Linked DNA regions of Homo sapiens: region 1 is linked to region 2. Evidence: promoter capture Hi-C in 16 types of primary human blood cells and fetal thymus (Javierre and others, 2016). All regions are on one chromosome and are shown on one strand. Each heading gives the region's core, a stretch centred on a gene start or on the middle of the fragment in contact. The rest is flanking DNA. Distances are from core to core; before and after follow the strand shown.

Evidence for each region. Contacts are between HindIII fragments. The CHiCAGO score rates a contact against its expected background, and 5 or more counts as called.
Region 1: a contact is called between a fragment that was not itself captured here and the fragment with the promoter of LINC01801 in region 2, in 1 of 17 cell types (M0 macrophages). The highest score is 6.1, in M0 macrophages.

Annotation. Positions count from the first base shown.
Region 1 is chr19:37,818,350-37,824,959 of GRCh38, reverse strand. It overlaps LOC644554 (a long non-coding RNA gene), which reads right to left. Exons shown (of 5, transcript NR_040013.1): 2 at 5,343-5,463; 3 at 4,654-4,736; 4 at 1,054-1,149. It also overlaps the pseudogene WDR87BP. Among named protein-coding and RNA genes, the nearest start is that of ZNF573, 42 kb to the right of the region's middle. The HindIII fragment of the contact is 5,620 bases long and covers 1-5,509 here.
Region 2 is chr19:34,827,510-34,834,457 of GRCh38, reverse strand. It overlaps LINC01801 (long intergenic non-protein coding RNA 1801), which reads left to right and starts at 1,589. Exons shown (of 6, transcript NR_033982.1): 1 at 1,589-1,733; 2 at 1,922-2,128; 3 at 3,932-4,052; 4 at 5,205-5,294. The HindIII fragment of the contact is 2,823 bases long and covers 1,262-4,084 here.

The DNA.
Region 1 (6,610 bases), core at 1,450-3,949, 3.0 Mb before region 2:
AGTGGGAGAATCTTATTCACAGAAAGTGACATTCCTGAGAAAGATCTACCCCACAGCAAATACCAAGCTCTTATTTTGTTAGAATATGGATGGTGGGATGAAACCGAGCATTTCCATATCATAAAGCCTTAGTCCCCCTGCTTTGTATCTCTTATGGTAGCTCAATGAATTAGATTTTACAAAGGATCTTACTCAAGACCTCTGTGTTTCTGTTAACTGTTTTTCTCCCAATATCTCTGCAGTTAAAAAGGACCTGAGAGTTGCCAGGAAGCACAGAAAGACAAAATTGGAAATGTCTAGTTCCATGTTGATGCCTTCAGAAGATGCAGGTGAACAAAGAGAGGCCGGGAAATCAGAGCTAGTTGAAACCCAACATGTTACCTTAGAGCCAGAGCTACCACTGAGTTCTCTAAGCACAGTCAAATCCCAGGATTATGCTGAAACAGAGCAGGAGGTCATTTTACAAGCTATAGAGGCCATGGAGGCCACAGAAGCCCTGGAGGCCACAGACGCCATGGAAGCCATAGATCAAGGTAGCATGAAAGATTATGGAGATGTGATCTCTAAGCTGGAAAGAAAAGAACACATTAAAAGGCTTTGGAAAAAGTCAATGAGAAAAGGCAGAATTGCAGATGTGCTGTGGAAAGAGAAAAAAGATTTGAAGGATATTTCAGAGGTGACTACAGAAGAACCTAAGGAAGACATCGTAAAAATTGATGAGCAAGAAGAAGGTAAAAGCAAGAAAAGTGAAAAGAAGAGCCGGGGTTTGGCTGGGACTCCTGGACGTGCAGGTAGACCAGACACCAGATCTTGGAGGGATGGCATTTGTTCTTTTGTCACTTCAAGGATAGCAAGTTCCCATCCAGGAATGTTAAGGTGAAGGTGAAGCTCACTGGGTAGCTTATGCAGAGTATTTATCTTCCTTATAAATCACACACCTTTTCTCTGCTGTGAATGGAGATTTCCAACTAACATCCCAAGTGTATGTCTCTTCCCTGACCACACAGGTTGTTATTTACACAGATGGCTTCCCACAGTCAGACTTATTTTTACCTGTACACCATCTTCCTTTTTCTTCCCTTACAATCATCCAGGGCTCTTTTCCTTGCTCCAATGATGTAATTACATCTGGCTTAGAAAAGTCATGTCCTGCTTACAAAGAAAAAAAGGCCACTTGATATAGAAACATACTTTGCTGTCAAAATTACAATTGTAATAAATCAAGGATCAAAATGAAACTGAATAAGGTTTTTGAGAGGATGAGGAAATTAAAGAACAAGAAATCAGTTAGGTTGGGTAAGGATTTTAAATATAACCTACACACCCATATCTTTTTTTTTTTTTCCTGAGAGTACACATAATACCATGGTTGAAAATACAGACTCTAGAGCCTGGTATCAATTCCTGCCTTTACCACCTCCCAGCTGTGCATGACCTTCAGCAAGTCATTTAAATCCACTGGGCTTTAATATTCTCAACTGGAAAATGAGGATATAATAAGATTGTCGAATTTAATAAGGATTAAATTGGTTGAGACATATATGTGAAATGCTTAGAACACTACCTTTAATAGACACAGTGTTCACTACTAAGGTTATTATTGATATTGTTGTTTTGTTAAGAGTATACAAGAAAAGATATTTATAGGATATTCATTCCATTTAAAATGTAATGTTTATAGATGACAACTTTAAACCACAACTTTCAACCACGAATAAGTTAAAATTTGCTTAGGAAATAGAATGTGTTTGCTTCAGTTTTAAATGAATTCAATTTATCTAATCCAAAGCTATATACATTATAAAGGTTCTTTTGATAATTAGAGCAATTCAGGATCCTATGTCAAGGTAATCTGCAAGTGGATCAGATGCTATAATGGAGTATCCACAGTAATTCGGAGCATAAAGAAATAGGAAACCTGGATCCTTTTACAATGGTTATATAATATAGGCTGCTGAATCCTAATCTAGCCCTTCCTTATAAAAGAAGAAAGACAACTGTAACTATGACCAGAGAAAAGTTTGAACATCACTGAGGGACAGGGAAGATGAGTATGTCTAGTGAAGCTGTCACTTCCTACCCAACAAAGCCCAAACCACTTCTTTGGGGAAAAGGGAAAAGAAATTTAACTAGTCTCTTGAAAGACAGCCCTAAAAATCACAATGAAAAATCATCCTAGAGAGCAGATTCAAAGTTATCCTAAATTGTCTGAGGCAGAAAACATACCAAGTTACTACAGTTCTCCATCATCACATCCCAATACAAGGTCTTCTGAACATGGTCGAGACATTCCCACTCCTGCTGCGAGAAGTCTATGGCCACATCCCTGAATGTCATTGATGCCCGAAATGGCAAACCCATAGTGTTACTGGAGAAATTAAAGGAATACTTTCAAGATGGATGGAGGGGAAATAAGGACTGTATTGCAGGAAGAGAGCAATGTAACAAGCATGTTGTCTACAAATTTACAGTATGAGGGGGACTGAAGTGGAATGTATACGTATTTTTGAAAAAGACTGCTGGCATATAGAAAACTATGTGGCATACTCTAAAATACTTGCACCATTTGGGAATAAATAAAATAATAATGTTTGCCTATGAAAGTAAACAGTGAATATAAGCATAATGTCTGATTGGTATCTGCCATATAAATTTTTAAATACATATGAGTTGCTGGGGAAAATTTTTGCTTTTAAGAGGAGCAAAAAATTTAATCAGATATTTTCCCCAAATGAAGTATAAAGTCTTGATTATTATTATTTTTAATAGAGACAGGGTCTTGCTGTGTTGGCCAGGCTGGTCTTGAACTCCTGGTCTCAAGCAATGCTCCCATATCAGCCTTCCTAAGTGGTGAGATTACAGGTGTGAACACCTGGAATTACAGGGATTACAGCACCTGGCCTTGATTTTAGAAAATAGGGTTTACATAAAATTAAGAATTCTCTCAAGCATTAAATACTTCATTACATCAGATCTCACCATAAGCATTTTTCTCTTGTTTTGACAAATCCATGTATTTTGGGGGCACATGAGAATTATATCTTAGGGCAATATCAGACTTACTTGTTTACAATGCAGTTAGGATACACAACATTTTTAAGGTCTTCCCCAGTTCTAGGATTCTGTGTTCACTTGCTACTTATAATGACATTCTCTTTTGTGGCTCTCTACCATCTCTCACTGAGCACCTGGCTTGCTATATAGGTTACCAAAGATCCCCATCCGATAGTATTACATGCTTGTGTAATCTCCTTCCCTTGCACGTGGGCTGAACCAAGTGACTTGCTCTTAATAAGCAGAATAGCTACAGTGCTGAAATGTTACTTCAGCACTTTTTCTGTATTTCTCTCCCTCTCTTGATGTCTCATTTGCTCACTGATTAAAACACAGCCACCATGTTTTAAGCTATTCTATGGACAGACCCACATGACAATAAACCAAGAGCAGCTTCCAGGCAACAGCGAATGAGGAACTAAGACTGTCAGTCTGAAGCCTGTGAGAAACTGGATCCTGTTAACAACTAGTTGAGTGAGCTTAGAAAAAGATCCACCCCAAGTTAAGCCTTAAGATGACTGTAGTCCTGACCAAAACCTGGATCTCCTTGTAAGAGATCGAGAGCCAGAGAGGCAAGCTAAGCCATGTCTGGATTTCTGATCCAAAGAAACTGTGAGATAAATGTTTGCTGTCTTAAGCCATTAAGTTTTGGTCTAATTTGTTATGTAATAATAGATAACAAATGCATTGAGTTAAAGAATACTAAGGAAGAATAATGAATTATATACATGTCATCTAAATTTAGTAGGTTCCATCCAACATCAGAATAGTCCTGATATTTATTCCTGAGGGGTTTCTTGCCAAAATCCATAACCTCCAAGTTTGCAAGTCCCCAGTCATTTACTGAACCACACAAAGCATGAGATTTCACCCAATGAATGACTGAGTTTGATCATTCAATACCAAATTTTCATCTTCACTTCCTGGAAATCTCCAGTCGGTGATAATTTAAGTTTTGTTATGGATGGTCAAATACAACCATTGACTCTATCTTACCAAACTAGACTTGACCCAAAAAGCACAAATCTTTACTTAAAAGGACTTAACTCCACCACTGCCCTTGATAGAGGGCTCTTAAGACATGCTGAATAATTTGCTCAGTAATTACATGAACAAAGGAGGTTTATAATGGGACATATTGGGTGGATGCTGGGAACTGGAAGAATAAGAGCTGGAAGCATGTTATTTGATGAGCCTCTCCTGGTAGGAAATTTCAGGAAAATTAATAAAAATACCTTCATGACCTAAAAACACACACATATTTCTTTTTTTTTTTTTTGAGACCAAGTTTCGCTCTTGTCCAGGCTGGAGTGTAGTGGCACAATCTTGGCTCACTACAACCTCTGCCTCCCAGGTTCAAACGATTCTCCTGCCTCAGCCTCCTGAGTAGCTGGGATTACAGGCATCTGCCATCATGCTGGGCTGTTTTTGTATTTTTAGTAGAGACAGGGTTTCACCATGTTGGCCAGGCTGGTGTCAAACTCCTGACCTCAGGTGATCCACCCGCCTTGGCCTCCCAAAGTGTTGGGATGACAGGCCTGAGCCACCGTGCCTGGCCAACACACACATATTTCAACAAGGAGAAAAACGTGAACTTACATGGGCCATGGTTTTAGAACTGCAAGAGTAGATCAGTCCTCAGGGTTCCTCTACCAGAGAAGCACAGATCCAGAAAGCCAGAGCTGGAGGAAGAAGAAAGACCTTGAGACCAGTTTTGCATTAGTGTTCCTGACAGACCTTAAGTTACTTAATATTGCTGTGATGCTCTTCCATTCCAGGTCTCAAACTATTTCCCATCATACATAATTCGGGCAAATTGGGGTTCTGGATAAATCTATTTCCTCCCCCAAATCACAGAGGTCTCCACTGAACAAAGTCATAGAAGCGAAGCATTTCTGGGGCCAGGCACGATGGCTCACGCCTGTAATCCCAGCAACTGGGGAGGCTGAGGCAGGAAGATCGCTTGAGGTCAAGAGTTCAAGGCCAGCCTGGGCAACATAGTGAGACCCAGTCTCTACAAAATAAAAATCAGCTAGGCATGATGGCGCATGCCTATAATCCCAGCTACTTGGGAGGCTGAGGCGGTAGGATCGCTTGAGTCCAGGAGTTCAAGGCTGCAGTGAACTATGATTGTGCCAGTGCACTCCAACCTAGGTGACAGAGCAAGACCCTGTCTCTACAAAAACAAAACAACAACAAAACAGAGGCATTTCTGCATCACAGACAAACTATGATGTTAGCAGGGAGGTTTCTGGCCACTGTATTATTTTGGTGAGGCAGATGTAGACCTGAGATTGGGCAGCAGGGTCCTGGTCTGGGTAGATCCTCTTCTTTCTATTCCCATCTTAGAAGATTGAAGGCCCACATCGTCCAGAACTTCTTCTGTGGCTTTTGAACTGAGCAAAGACACTGGGGACAGAAAGGCAGCATTTAGTATTTTGGATCTGACAAAGCTTACTAGATATGGCAGACCATCGTACATGTAAAATGGGAAGCTGTGAAAAATACTTAAGGACACAGGAAATATTTCAGATATACTGTCAATAGAAAAATCAGGTTGGCCAATATAATCATTATTATAAAACATGACTATCAATACAGAGAAGCAGACGATTACTGAAATCAGTAAACAAAAACTTGGAAGGTTATATGGCCACCTATTAACACTATTTTTCTTTTTGTTTGACCTTGATTTTAATTTTTAAAGCCTTGTTCATAATTATTCCAATAATAACAATAGGTTAACTTGAAACACATGTGGGCTTTTTTAGTTTTTGTTGTTGTTGTTGTTGTTAACAGGAAGATGTTCCCCCAAAAGAAAGGGACTTGAGACAATGTCTTTGTTCTCTACATTTACGTTGTTATACTAAATGTCTTATCTTTTGTTTCCTTTGGATCCTATTATCTGAACTTACTTGATCATTTCTTCTCAGGTATGACAGAATTCTGTCTTGAAAAAATGGGGAGTAGTCCCTGAGTAATCTTTTGAATAAACTGATGGCGGTCACCACACAGCTTTATTTCAGATCTTCTGGACAAAAAGGCTTATTTTGTTTCTAAGCCTGTCAGATAAGTCATGTCCCCTCAGACAGCTTCTGAATTATTATTATTTTGTTTTATTTTTATTTTTGAGATGGAGTCTCGATCTGTCGCCAGGCTGGAGTGCAGTAGCGGGACCTCGGCTCACTGCAAACTCCACCTCCTGGGTTCAAGCGATTCTCCTGCCTCAGCCTCCCGAGTAGTCCCAGCTACTCGGACTGGGCGCACGCCACCACGCCCAGCTAATTTTTGTATCTTTAGTAGAGATGGGGTTTCACCATGTTGGCCAGGATGGGCTCGATCTCTTGACCTCGTGATCCGCCCGCCTCCACCTCCCAAAGTCCTGGGATTACAGGTGTGAGCCACCACGCCCGGCCGAATTACTTTATTCTATTATAATACTTTCATTTTGCATCTAACCTAATTAGAAGGAAACTGTGAGCCACGAAAGTTACAGCACAAAATCTATTTATTGCCATAGATTCAACAGGATTGGTATAATTTGTTCATATCCTGT
Region 2 (6,948 bases), core at 340-2,839:
TCTTGAACTCTTGGTCTCAAGCAATCCTCCCTCCTCAGTCTCCCAAACTGCTAGGATTACAGGCATGAGCCACTACACCTAGCCACAGTAGCATTATTATTTCTAATAGCCAAACATCCATCAATAATAGAATGGGTAAATTATATTTGTTCAATGGAACATCACACAGCAATATAAAAGAATAAAGTGCTGCTAAAAGCAACAACATGGATGAATTTTATGAAGTGTTGAATGAAAAGACACAGCCACAAACAGGACACATGGTAGGGTTCCATTTATATAAAGTTTTTAAATAGGCAAAACTAATCTATAATGTTAAAAATTTGGGAGGGGCATAGTGACTAGGAATGAGCATGAGGTTGATTCTGAGGTGCCTGTGTTTTGCTTCTTGATCTAGATTACATAGGTTTGTTCATTCTGCAAAAATGTATTGAGGAATAGACAGATGATTTGTACACTTCTGTGTATGAATGTTATATTGTAAAGTTTCTTGAAGAATACCTGTTTACAAGAGTTAGAGAACATGGAAGCTCTTTCTCTGAGATAAAACATCTAAAAAGACAAAAATTAGCCGGGCGTGGTGGTGGGTGCCTGTAATCCCAGCTACTCGGGAGGCTGAGGCAGGAGAATGTCTTGAACCCGGGAGACAGAGGTTCTAGTGAACCAAGATCACACCACTGCACTCCAGCCTGGATGACAGAGGAAGACTCTGAGACTCCGTCACAAAAAAGAAAAAACAAACAAACAAACAAACAAAAAAGCCCTAAGTCATATCATGCCAGTCTCAGCAGTTTGAAACCCTCCATGGTTCCCATCTCTCAGTAAAAGGCAACGTTCTTATGACATCCTTCAAGGCCCCATGTAGTCTTTTGGTCCCTCTCCATCTCTGTCCTCCTGTCATCCACGTCTCCCACGTGCTGATTGGGTCTGGTAGGGTGACTGGGTGGCAAAGACCTCACAGAGGTGCCTTTCTGCTCAGGTGGCAAACAGGAGAGTCTATCTGGGCCCTGCAGGATGGATCCTTCCTGAGTCACTGAATATATTGGAGGTGCAGACAGCGCCAGAGAAAGGCATTGAGCCTGCCAGATCAGACACCGCCTCTTAGGGTCGACGGAACACCCAGGAGCAAAGACCAGAAATTGTGGGAGAAAGGCCTGGAAGGGGGCCGGGGAGAGGCACAGAGACAGCGAGGTGATGCAGGCTTGGTGGGAGCGGGTATGGTAGGCAATGGGGGACAGAGGGGCAGGGCACAGACAAAGCTTGCTGAAGATATGAAGAGCAATTGTGAGCCGGCGAATCCTTGGAGTAGAGGAGAAAATTGAGGTCTCCTGTTCAGCCCGATGCAGGTGAGATGCTGTTGGAACACGTGACAGAGAAAGGGTGTGTGAGCCCAGGGCTTGTGCACTAAGCGCACAGGAGCGAAGGGGGCGAGAAGAAAAAACGACGCCCAGCAAAGAGCGTCAAGGCCCAACCGCCTGCCCCCAACCGGTCTCTAGCGCCTCGTGACCTTCTGCACTCCGTTGCAGGCGTTTGGCACCAGATGGTCCCACGCGCTCTGTTCGACGGTTGGGGGCCGCGGACGCTGGTTGTCAGCAGCACTGGGTCAGCCGGTGAACGGGTGTGCAGCGTCCTCAGCGCCGCAGCAGTCAGCACCTGTGGGTGCTCTAGCTCTTTCCCTCGGGGTCACCGGAGGCAGAGCCTCCCCTACGCGGAGTAGAGGAGCAGCTCACATGGTGCGGGGGTGGGGATCGGGCTTCCTGGAAGGCTGGAAATGGGAGTTGGGATAAGGGGTTGGCGAGGGCGGGGCGGCACCGTCTACCGGGGTGACCGGTGTGCCCTGGCAGCCAGGGAGTCTGCTGCAGGGCAGGTATTAAGATTCGGAGAGACATAGGACAAAGAACCCTCGGCCTCTTCTTTTCAGGCAGCCGCCACAGAGGACACCAGATCATGCCAACACCCCCACAACTCCTGCCCGCCTGCAGGCAGCTCTGGGCTCAGGACACCGCCTGCAAGAACCTTTATAGCGCAGCTCTCCAAACCTTGGAGGCGAGGACATTCTATGTGCCCGCCCTGGAAAGGCCTGAACCTATAACATCTGGGCTGTGATGGTTTCTGAGGTGGACACCAGGTATTCTAAACTGCCCACATGCTTCACCCCAAAACTTCCCTTTCTAACAGGCAGTGTATTTTCACTTCTTTTAAAATATTTGGTAAAACAGCATTTAAGCCTTAGAAAGTTCCCCATCTCACCCCAGCCAGGGTTTGAACCCATGCTGTCTGATTCCACAGATCATGCATTTAACCACCAGACTTTGGTGTAGCCTCACCGTGTGTGCATAATGGATTACACTTGTTTATAATACTTGGGGTGCTTAGCACCATGTCAGAGCTGTAATGAGTACTTGCACTGTTAGGAGGTCTAACATGGTTCAATTTATAAGTGGACCATTGGCCACACCGGGTCTGGCTCAGTCTCCTGGGAGGATGTAGGCAGGGACCACCAATTATCAGCATATCTCCATGATGAATTTCTCCAGACAGCGTATCACTCTGTCACACAGGCTGGAGTCACAGCTCACTGCAACCTCGAACTCCTGGGCTCAAGAGATCCTCCCACCTCAGCTTCCCAAGTAGCTGAGACTGCAGGCATGCGCCACCACGCCTGATAATTTCTCTTCTAATTGAGCTTTGCAGAAAGCCACACAGCTGTCTGAGAGCTATTTTCTCCCAGGTATAGGGACAGGAAATGGCACCTCAGACTTCTGCAGATTCCACCCTGGCTTAAAAGCCCATGCCCCCAAGGACACCAATCTTTCTTACAATAACATAGACTATCTTTCAGGGTCCTGGCCAAGATGGACAACTTGCCAATATTAACTTTTCCAGGCCACAGGGATGATATATATCTCCATAGATTTAGGTCTTGAGTATTTTCTCCTAGAAATATTTCGCAGCAAGGGTCAGCACTGCAGCCTATGGGCCAACAAATTTAGCCTGTAGCCTACATGTAAGGCCAGTGAGTGAAGGATCCTATTAACAATTTTAAAGAGTTGCAGCAGAATACACAGAAACACAAAGAGTCTGTGTCACAGACAACGTGACCCACAAAGGCTATGCTACTTATTAGGCTGGTGCAAAAGTAATTGTGGTTTTTGCCATTACTTTCAAACCGCAATTACTTTTGTACCAACCTCATACTATCTGGCTTTTTAAGAGAAAATTTGCAACTGTTTTGCAGTTGTCTGTGCATAGATCTTCCACAGCTTTTGCTAATTTATTTCTAAGTATTCTATGGGGTTTGTAAATGCTATTGTAAATGGAATCTTTTAAATTTTAATTTTTGATAGTTCATTGGTAGAATATAGGTAATACATATAATACAGTCCAGTGTCGCTTTAACAATGGGAATACCTTCTGAGAAATGCATCATTAGGTGATTTTCGTCATTGTGCAAACATCATAGACTGTACCTACACAAACCTAGATGGTATAATTGACTATACTCCTAGGCCATATGGTATAGCCTGTAGCTACAAACCTGTACGGCATATACTGAATTTGAGGCAATTGTAACACAACGTTAAGTCTTTGTGTATCTAAATATATCTAAACACAGAAAAGAAACAGTAACAATGTCATATTATCTTATGGGAACACTGTCGTATATGCAGTTCATTGTTGACCAAAACCTTGTTATGAGGTGCATGACTGTGTATGTACATAAATGTATATATGCATACATATTGAGTTTGTATATTGAACCTCACTGAAATCGCTTTTGATTTCAGGTAGTTTCTTTGCAGATTCCATAGGATTTTCTACATACACAATAATGTTTCTAGGAATCATGTTTCTGTGAATAAAGCTAGTTTTCCTTCTGTTGTAATCTACATGCTTTTTATTTCTCTTTATTTCCTTCTGTATTTGCCAGGACCAACACTTGTCAGCATGGCACAATCAGGCATTTCTCTTCTAAGTAGGATGTGCAGCCAAAAACTCAGCTGTCTGTGAGCTGTCTTCTCCCAGGAACGAGGACATAAGATGTACATCAGGTAGATACAAGATCCATGCTAGCTTAAAAGCTTTATGCCCCAAGGGCACCAATATCACTTGCAATAATTCCATAGGCCAGCTGTCAGGGCCCTGGGTGAGATTGATAATTGACCAATATCAACTTCCCTAGCCCCTGAAAATGATGATGATGATGGGGTGTGTGTGTGTGTGTGTGTGTGTGTGTGTGTGTGTGTGTGTGTGTACTCACGTACTATATACATATATTGGCATATAGTAGTATATGGACAAAACAACTGCTTTTGATATATTTACTTTTGTATTGAAACCTTGCTCATTTTCTATTTACATTTTGTAGTTTCTTTGTAGATTCTTTAGTGTTTTTTTTTTTTTAGTCTTGCTGTATCCCCCCTAGGCTGGAGTACAGTGGTGCAATCTCAGCTCCCTGCATCCTCTGCCTCCTGGGTTCAAGCGATTCTCTTGCCTCAGCCTCCTGAGTAGCTGGGATTATAGGCATGTGCCACCATGCCCAGCTAATTTTTGTTTTTTTAGTAGAGACCAGGTTTCACCATATTGGCCAGGCTGGTCTTGAACTCCTGACCTCAGGTGATCTGCCCACCTCGGCCTGCCAAAGTGCTGTGATTACAAGTGTGAACCACTGTGCCCAGCCCTCTTTCAGATGTTCTACATAGACAAACGTTTTCTGTGCTTAAAGGCACTTTTCTTTCTTCTCTTTTAATCTCTATGCCTTTTATTAATTTTTCTTATCTTCTACATTTGCTGCAACATCCAGGAAACTATCAAATACAAGAAGAGACAATGGATATTCTTTCCCAGTTCCTAATCATAGGTTAAGAGTATTCAGTATGGTATTAACTGAAGATTTTTTGTAGATATGCTTTATCACAGAAATGAATTCTCTCGAATTCCTGCTTTACTTAGAATGTTTTTGGTAAGTGGTGTGAGACCCACAGCTATTGAGATCACCATAGGACATTTCTCTTTTATTCTCTTAATATGATGAATTACATTGATTGATTTTTAGGTGTTAAATGAATCTTTGCCTTCCTGGGGAAAAACTTACTTAGTCACAAAAGATCATCTTTTTATATTTGGTTTTCCTAAAGTGTTGCCAAAGACTTTTGTGTCTATGTTATGAGCGATATTAATCTGTAATTTTCTCTTCTTGTTAGGTTTTGATATTAGAGTAATACTGGCCTTATAGAATGAGTTACGAAAAGTTGCCCCTTTCTCCACTTTCTGAAAGAGTTTGTGTAACACAGGTAAAATATTGTTCTTACACATTTGATAGAATTCACCTGAAAAACCGTCTGGAACTGCATATTTTTTCTTAGAGGATGTTTATAATTCCCCATTACCCTTTTAATGTCTTTCAGATCTGACTCATGCCCTTCCCTTTTTATTCCTAATATTGGTAATTTGAGTTTTCTCTTTGTTATTTCTTCTTCAATCTTGATAGAGGTTTCTCCATTTTATTACACTTTATAATTTCTATATTATATATAGAAATGTCTATAAATAGAAATTAATAGAATTAATGTGTCTCTATCATTTCTATTTCCGTGTCTATTTTTATTATTTCTTCTTTTCCATTCATTTTATATTTAATTTATTCCTTGATTCTTCTACTCAGGGTAGAAACCTAAATCATTGTTTCTTAAAATGTTTCTGTTTTAAACATAAACGCTTAAAGCTGCCACACTTTAGCTGTCTATCACAAATTTTGATTTGCTGTGTTTTGCTTATTCAGTCCAAAATATTTTATATTTTTCCTTGTTATTTTTTAATATATTGATTATATAAAAGTGTGTCTTGCTTTCATTCTAAATATGAATATGAGTATTTTAAATATTTAACTATTTAAATTTAATATTTATTATAGTATTTATTTATTTAATATTTAATCTGTAAATTTTAGGATTTTGTAGATATCATATTGTAGATATCTACAATTTTGTAGATAGATCTACAAAAATTCTATTGTGATCAGAGAAAACATATTAATCTCAAAATTATTAAGATTTATTTTTTGGCCCAATCTTAATGAACATTCCATGTGCTCTTGAAAAGAAACATGTGTTCAGCTGGTGTTGGGTTATATGTTTTACAAATACCAATAAAGTCAAGTTACAACTTCTGTAATCTTACTTTTTATTAAATTAACAAACTTTATTTTAGAACAGTATTAGTTTCACAGAAAAATTGAGGAGAAAGTGCAGTGTGTTCTCGTGTATCTTCTCCACCCGTACGTACACAGTTTATCCTGTTACTAACAACTTGGATTCATGTGGTACATTTGTTACAATTAATGATCCAATATTAATATATTAACTAAAGTCTATAGTACACATTATGGTTAACTCTACCTGTCATACAGTTCTGTGGTTTTTGACAATTGCATAATGTCATGTACCCATACTGTAGCATCATACAGAATAGTTTCACTACCCCAAAAATCTCCTGTGCTCCATGTAATCCCTTCCTCCCCCAAACTCCTAGCAACCACTGATCTTTTTACTGTCTCTAGTTTTGCCTTTCCAAATGTCGTATAGTTGGAATCATACAGTATTTAACCTATTCAGACAGGCTTCTTTCACTTTGCAGCATGAATTTAATGTTCTTCCATCTCTTTTCATGGTTCAACAGCTCATTTCTTCATATTGCTGAATAATATTCCATTGCATAGATATACCACAGTTGGTTTATCTATTCACTTTTTGAAGGACATTTTGGTTGCTTCTAATTTGGGGCAATTATGATTAAAACCGCTACAAACATTCATGTGCAAGGTGTTTGTTGTTGTTGTTATTTTTGTTTGTTTCATTTTGGAGTATTTACTATCTCTGAAAATTAATATAATGGGGGTGCTAATGCTAATTTTTTAAAATCAAGGTTAGCTCAAGTAGTTCTCCTTAT